Linked DNA regions of Homo sapiens: region 1 is linked to region 2. The links are contacts of gene promoters, found by promoter capture Hi-C in blood cells and fetal thymus (Javierre and others, 2016). All regions are on one chromosome and are shown on one strand. Each heading gives the region's core, a stretch centred on a gene start or on the middle of the fragment in contact. The rest is flanking DNA. Distances are from core to core; before and after follow the strand shown.

Region 1 (3,672 bases), core at 426-2,925, 370 kb before region 2:
TGTTGCAACATAGAAGAACCTTGAAAACATTATGCCAAGTGAAAGAAGCCAGTCACAAAAGACCATATTGTATGATTCTATTTCTATGAAATGTCTATAGGCAAATCTATAGAAATAGAAAGCAGACAGGTGGTTGCCTAGGGCTTGGGGGAGGGAGTTTGGGGAGAAATATGGAGTGACTACTAATGGATATGGGATTTTGCCTGGTTGACAGAAATGTTCTAAAATCTATTTTGGCAATGGATGCTCAGCTGTGGATATACTAAACGCTATTCAACTGTACATTTTAAAGGGGTGAATTGTATGGTACGTGCCTAACATCTCAATAAAGCTGTTGAAAAATTCTCTTCTCATAGTGCTCATATCTTAGTGGAAAGCAAAAGGATTCAACCTTCTAAGGATCTTTCCAATCTGTCCACTTCTCTTTGTCCAGCACGTTACCATCTCCTCTTTGGATCACCACAAAAGCCTCCCGCCTCTTCTGGCTCCAGTGTGGCCTGCTGTGAATCTCCTCTATAAATCTCCACTTTGCTGCCTTAGAAATCTTTCTGAAGGGCCATTGAGATGCTCCTCCTGCCTCCATCTCACCACGGCTTCCACAGCCTTAAAGGTGAAGTCCAGGCTCTTTCACTCCACTGAAAAGGCCCTGTATGATCTGGTCCCTACTAATCTCTGACTTCATTTCTCACCACTCATCACTTGGGCCACGAACTCTTTCAGTTTTGCAAATCTCTTTGCCCTGTCTCAATTCCAGGCTTTTGCAAAGCCTGATTGTTCTGCCTTTTGGGTCTCAGCTCACATGCCACTTGTTCTGGAAGCTTTTTTCTTAAATACTCCCCGTCTTCACACAGTAGAGCCCTGCCCCCGCAACAGGTGTGTGCCCATTCATTTCCTAGACTTACTGCGTGCCAGGCACCTTTTTTTGTTTGAGACAGGGTCTCGCTCTGCCACCCAGGCTGGAGTGCAGTGATGTTATCGTGGCTCACTGCAGCCTTGACTTCTCAGGCTCAATTGGTCCCCCAGCCTTAGCCTCCCAGGTAGCTGGGACTATAGTGCATGCCACCATGCTCAGCTAATTTTTTTTTTTTTATTTTACTGTAGAGACATGGTTTTACCATGTTGTCCACGCTGGTCTCAAACTCCTGAGCTCAAGCGATTCACCAGGCACCATTCTAAGTGCAACGTTATAAAATTAACTCCTTTAATTTTCACAACAACCATATGATGTAGATACTATTATTATTCTTATTGTACAGATGAGAAAATTGAGGCATAGAGAGGTTAAGTAACTTTCCCAAAGTCACACAGCTGGTGATGGAGCACGGATTTGAACCCAGACAATATGGCTCTAGAATTTGTGCTAACTGCCATGTTCTGTGGCCTGAAATTGCTTAACACATCTTGGCACTTATTATACACTGTAATTGACTCTTTAATTATATCTCCATGTGACTTTTAGTTTATGGGAGGTAGGAATTATGTCTGGCTTTTTCATTATTGTGTTCCCAGCATGAGGCCTAGCCCATAGTTTTTTAATTAAAAAGAAGAATGAACAAACTAATTAATTAATTAAGATAGAGATATGTGAGATGTACAAGAAGAAAGTTATTGGATTTCTAGCTCATAGAAGGACAATGTTCTGATTAATTGATATTATGTTAAAAGTTCTCTAACGTACAGGATACATATTTCTTGAGAAATTATATTCTGGTTAAAGTGCCTTATACACAGTGGATGGTTCATAATTCTTGCTTAGTTTTTTACAACTTTTTATTGTAAATTATGTAAGATTTACAAAAATAGTACAAAGAATTTCTATATCCTCTTTACCTAACTTCTCCAAATGTTAACATATGATATAATAACAGTACAAAGATAAAATTGGGAAGTTAACATTACTACTTAATTCATTGCTATCTCATTTAATTCTCATTATCTGTTTCAATACTGTCCTTTTGTTTTTTGAGACAGAGTCTTGCTCTGTCGCCCAGGCTGGAGTGCAATGGCACGGTCTCGGCTCACTGCAACCTCCGCCTCCTGGGTTCAAGCAATTCTCCTGCCTCAGCCTCCGGAGTAGCTGGAATTACAGGGGCCCGCCACCATGCCTGGCTAATTTTTGTATTTTTAGTAGAGATGGGGTTTCACCGTGTTGCCACACTGGTCTTGAACTGCTGAATCTTGTGATCCGCCCACCTCGGCCTCCCAAAGTGCTGGGATTACAGGCGTGAGCCACTGCATCTGGACTCAATACTGTCCTTTTTATGATCCATGATCCAAACCAGGATTACACATTGCCTTTATTTATTAGCCTGTTTTAAGCTGGGACGATGTCTCAGTTTTTCTTTATCTTTTCCAACCTTGACACCTTTGAAGAGCAGCTGTCAGTTATTTTGTGGAACATCCCTCCATTTGGGTATGTCTGCATTCCTTGCAGACATTAAATTCAGGTTATGCATTTTTGGTAAGGATACCACATAAGGGATGCCATGTCCTTCTCAGTGCATCATATCAGGAAGCACACAATAAGCTTTAATCTTGGTTAAGGCTATATATGCCACATTTCTACATTGTGAAGTTATGACATTTCTCACTGTAATTAATAGGCATCTCATGGAAAAATACTTAGAGACTAAATAAATATCATGTTTCTGGTAATAATTTCATCCATGAATTTTAGCATCCACTGATACGTTCTTGAAAAACAATTTTTACTGTGATCTTTGCCATTGGTGACTTGCTATTTGCATCACTCCTTCTGCATTTATTAATTGGAGTATTACAGTAAGAAAGAACTTTCCTTTCTTCCTCATTTATTTGTTTATTCAATTTTTTATTTAAATAAGTATGGGCTCATGAATATTGCTTTTAATCTGTGAGTGAACATTATTATCTTTTAAACATTTTTGTTGTTCAGATTGTCCCAGATCTAGGAGTCTTACCAAGTTGGCTTGTGTCATTTCAACATGTGTCCATCATTTTTTGAGCACTTCCTTAGTTACTAGCTCCACAAGATGTCCTAAGTTCATTCTGTTCTTCCCTGCCCCAGCCGTATAATCAGCTATCTGTTTAAGTAGACCGGGTTCCTTTTTACTGGAGAATAATATTTAGAAAGAAAGATCTGCAGTGAAATCCCGTCTCTACTAAACACACACACACACACACACACACACACACACACACACACACACACACATTAGCCGGGCGTGGTGGTGGGTGCCTGTAGTCCCAGCTACTGGAGAGGCTGAGGCAGGAGAATGTCGTGAACCCGGGAGGCGGAGCTTGCAGTGAGCCGAGATCACGCCACTGCACTCCAGCCTGGGCGACAGAGCAAGACTCAGGCTCAAAAAAAAAAAAAAAAAAAAGATCTGGGCACTAGATGCTTACTGCTACTGGGGTGTCATTGTTTCCTCCCTCAGTGATCAGGGCTAGGAAATATACGTATGTGTACACTTAAACATGTCTTTACTTATTTCCCTGTCTCTCTATTAAAAACTATGACTTTGCCGGGTGCAGTGGCTCACGCCTTTAATCCCAGCACTTTGGGAGTCCGCGGTGGGCGGATCACGATGACAGCAGTTTGAGATCAGCCTGGCCAGCATAGTGAAACCCTGTCTCTACTAAAAATACAAAAATTAGCCGGGCGTGTTGGCGCACTCCTGTAGTCCCAGCTAC
Region 2 (3,718 bases), core at 404-2,903:
GGAAGTTACAGAGATTGCGCCACTGCACTCTAGCCTGGCGACACAGCGAGACTCCGTCTCAGAAAAATAAATACATAAATAAAGTTATCACCTGAAAAAAAAATGTGAGAAGGGAAAAAAATAAAAAGGACTTTCATTTACTTGGCCCTCACTGATTAAGTTTGGCCAACTCTCCTGTTCAGGTGCTGTAATTCAAAGATGAAAAGAAGCTGCGCCCAGTCCGGACGCCAGGCCTTGTGTCCCCACCTAAGAAATCTGCACGGCAGGGATTAACCAGGGGAGAAGGGCCTGGCCGCTGGGCCTTGGCTTCCTCTTAGGCAGAGTTCCAGCCCCTGAGACTTGAGCCGACCGGCCTGAGACGACTCCGGCCGCCGCCACCCTATGCTGGCAAACAGGCCTCTCCCCAGCAGGCTCCAGGGGCAGCCACCTGCGCTCTCCCTGCCCTCCCCTACCCCACTCTCCTAGAGGAAGGATGAAGAACAGCTCCCCCTCCTTACTCTCAGGCACCCACAGATTTCTGAGCTGCCGTCACCACTGACGAGAACCCAGGTCCCCTGGAGGGATCGCTTCTCCTTCTGATTCCATCCTCCCCATCAATGAACACGCAGGAACACCCACGCTCCCGCTCCTCCTACTCCAGGGGGAGACCGAACCCGAGAGCGACATCCGGAGCTGGAAGCCGCTGCAACGGGGGCGCCGGCCTCCCTGCCCCGCAGTCTCCCGCCCTTTCCCAGACACCGGAGGATCCCAGACCAGCCCAGTATTCCAGACGGAGAGGGTGCCCGAGTCCTCCGCAGGGCCCCGCCTCCCTAGGCGCTCGGCGCTGGAGACCTAGGGGAGCGCGCGAGAGAAACGCTGAGCTCCACCCGGCTGGGGCGGAGGCTGAGCACTATACCCGGGACTCGAACCCCGCGCCCTCGTCCCCCAGCTTTAGGCATCCCACGGCGAGCCCTGGCCCAACGCCCCCGCGCCGCGTCTTCCCCCGCACCCCCGCCCGGAGCCGAGTCCCGGGTTGCCAGCGCGCCCATCCCGCCCCCAACAGGTCTCGGGCAGCGGGGAGCGCGCTGCCTGTCCCGCAGGCGCTGGGAGGCGAGCCGGAGCGAAGCCGAGGGCCGGCCGCGCGCGCGGGAGGGGTCGCCGAGGGCTGCGAGCCCGGCCACTTACGCGCGGGCTCTGGGGAACCCCATGGAGAGGAGCACGTCCAGCGCCGATCCATGCTTGATGGTGCCGGGGCGCTGTTGGCGGTTCCTCCGGGGGGTGACTTTGCTGTACAGCTCCTCTCTCGCAGCCATGCCGAGCGGACTGGGGTGGCCGTACTGAGCCATGGCTCAGCGGCCAGCCATCGCCAGGGAAGGAGCCCGAGCCGGATGGTTCGGGAAGGAGGAGGGAGTCGGGCTGGGCCAGGGGAGGGGGCTCGGGGACCCAGAGCCAGGCAGGAGGCGGCGGCAGCGGAGGCGGCGCTCCGAGCTTCCCCAGTGTCGGGACTCTGACGCTTCCTGGTGAGGCCACAGGAGCCAGAACGCCGGCAAGCGGCCGCTGCGGGACCAGCCTCAGCCACTCGGGCCCCCGGCTGCCCCCAGCTCTGCGCCTGCAGTAGCCCTGTCTCCTCCGCCCCCTTCCCTCTCCTCGCCTAGCAGTCCGGGAATTTGCAATGAGTAATTTTTGAATGGATCAAAAAGGAAAAGGAGCCTTGTGGGCTGGCCCTGACTTGCCTGTACCCGGGCCCCGCCCCTCTCTTAAAGCGGCCGCGCTGTCCGAGGCTGCTCCGTGCGGGCAAGAGCTGTAGTCGCGCTACTTGGAGACGGAGGATCCCAACCTTATGGGCTGCTTGTGTGCTTCACCTCCCGAGAGTCACCCCCGGCGCCCCAGCCCTCTCCTTGGCTGGCATACCCGCCCAGCTGGGCCTCAAGACAGGAGATCAACCCATCTCAAGTTTCATGTGATTCTAGATGCGGTTATTAATGGAAATTGGGTGAACTGGTGGATGATACTAATGGACCAGAAGGCCAAGCCGTAAGGCCTAGGTAAAAGGTTTTGCTTCTCAAAGATCCTGCAAAACCCAAAGGGTTGTTAGGACCATCGGAAGTTGAGTTCCCAATCAGCCGGCCAAGTGGCTGCACTAAAGACCTACTGCGCTCTACAAGGTTATGGTCAGTGACTGAATAGTGCCTTCCCGGTGGGGCAGAGGGGTTGGGGAGAAGGACCTCAGGTTCTCAGAGGTGGCAGGACCTGGGAGGGGACAAGAAAAGAGGGACAGGGCAGAAAGAAGAGGGAAGGGAAAAAGAAAGGAGGAAGGAGGAGGAGAAGAAGGAAGGGCTAGGAGGGTAGAGGAAGAAGGAACAGAGAAAACATACTTCCTAATTATAAGAGGTGTTCAAAAGGGAACGGGCTTATTTCATTAGGGAGTGGATATCCTGTCAATAAAAGGATTCAAAGACGGACCGAATCACCACTGCACAATAATAAGTGAATTGTATCATAGGCTGGACAAAACTACTCCCACTGCAAAGATGGTGGAAGCCACAACCATATTGATGCCCCATGCCCCACCTGGTGAATTTGGCTGGGGGATGCTAACCCTCTTTCGTTTGGAAACAAAGTCATTGTCTTCAGTCAGGGACAAGGGTCCCACTTGCTATAATGAAAGAGGCAATGAGTACACCCTAACTGATAGTCTTTTTTGGGTAATAATAATAATAAAACCTAACATTTATTGGGCTCTTGTATGTGCCAGTCATTGTGCTAATCGTAATGAATGAACTCACTGAAGTTTTATACTGACCCTAGGAGTGTGTTTAATCATTATCCCAGTTTTACAGATGAGAAAACTCAGCTCAGAGAGGTTGGGGAAGATCATAGAGCTGGTAAGTGCGTAGCTACAGCACTCGTATCCACTGCGGTGCCTTAGACAAGTTACTTCTCTCTACAGCCTAATTTCCTCATTGGTATGGACCGTGGTAACCTAACCTTGCACACACTGGGTTTTCCAGAAATGTCAGTCCGGGCCTGTCCCTGGTTGGAATATGGGGGAGGGATGGTGACCAGCACCCATGGAGTGGCTTTTTGAGGTTGCTTTATAAGGCCTGTGAAGGTTTTACCAGGGGAAATGATACAGTGTAACTCCCTGAGCCCGGAATTGGTTTCCTAAAGAATAGCCAGTGGTGTTTGGAAGCAGGGAGATAAGACAGCTGGAGCTTAAGCAACAATGTGTATTAATTCTGCCTCCTGCTGTACAAAGGATGAGGGAAAATTAATGCTTCCTGGGTAGTAGCTGCTTCCAGAGCAAAGGGGATATCCTGGAGACCTTGCAGAATGCTCTTCCAGGACATGGAGCAAAAAGACAAGACTGGGCTGGCAACACCATACCTAGTATTAGCCTCCTTGGATGTGTTCGGTAAAACATGCTGGATTTTATCCAGTATTCTGAATTGTTTCCAAATGCCTGGGCTGAAAGTCAAATGATCTGGATCTTAGTCAAGAGATAATAATGTATGTGAAAGCGCTTTGTAAACCATAAAGCGCTACATAAATGATAACTCAAATTTATTGAGTACTTACTATATGCTGGTGTTGTTCTTTGCTTCTTACATATGTGACTCAAACAATTCCTTGACAAGACTATGAACTAGGAACTACTTTACAAATGAAGGTGCTGAGCCAGAGGTCAAGTATCTTGTCCAAGGTCACATGGCTAGTAAATGGCAGAGCCAAGATTTGA

The links. The method cuts DNA at HindIII sites, captures the fragments that hold promoters and counts their contacts. A CHiCAGO score of 5 or more calls a contact.
Region 1: a fragment that was not itself captured here is called in contact with the fragment with the promoter of UBASH3B in region 2 in 1 of 17 cell types (fetal thymus); the score reaches 5.4 in fetal thymus.

The regions. Positions count from the first base shown.
Region 1 is chr11:123,024,730-123,028,401 of GRCh38, reverse strand. No RefSeq gene overlaps it. Among named protein-coding and RNA genes, the nearest start is that of SNORD14E, 32 kb to the left of the region's middle. The HindIII fragment of the contact is 1,709 bases long and covers 821-2,529 here.
Region 2 is chr11:122,653,657-122,657,374 of GRCh38, reverse strand. It overlaps UBASH3B (ubiquitin associated and SH3 domain containing B), which reads right to left and starts at 1,653. Exons shown (of 14, transcript NM_032873.5): 1 at 1,165-1,653. The coding sequence starts at 1,325. RefSeq lists a silencer at 994-1,043 and an enhancer at 1,247-1,748. The HindIII fragment of the contact is 6,403 bases long and covers 1-3,718 here.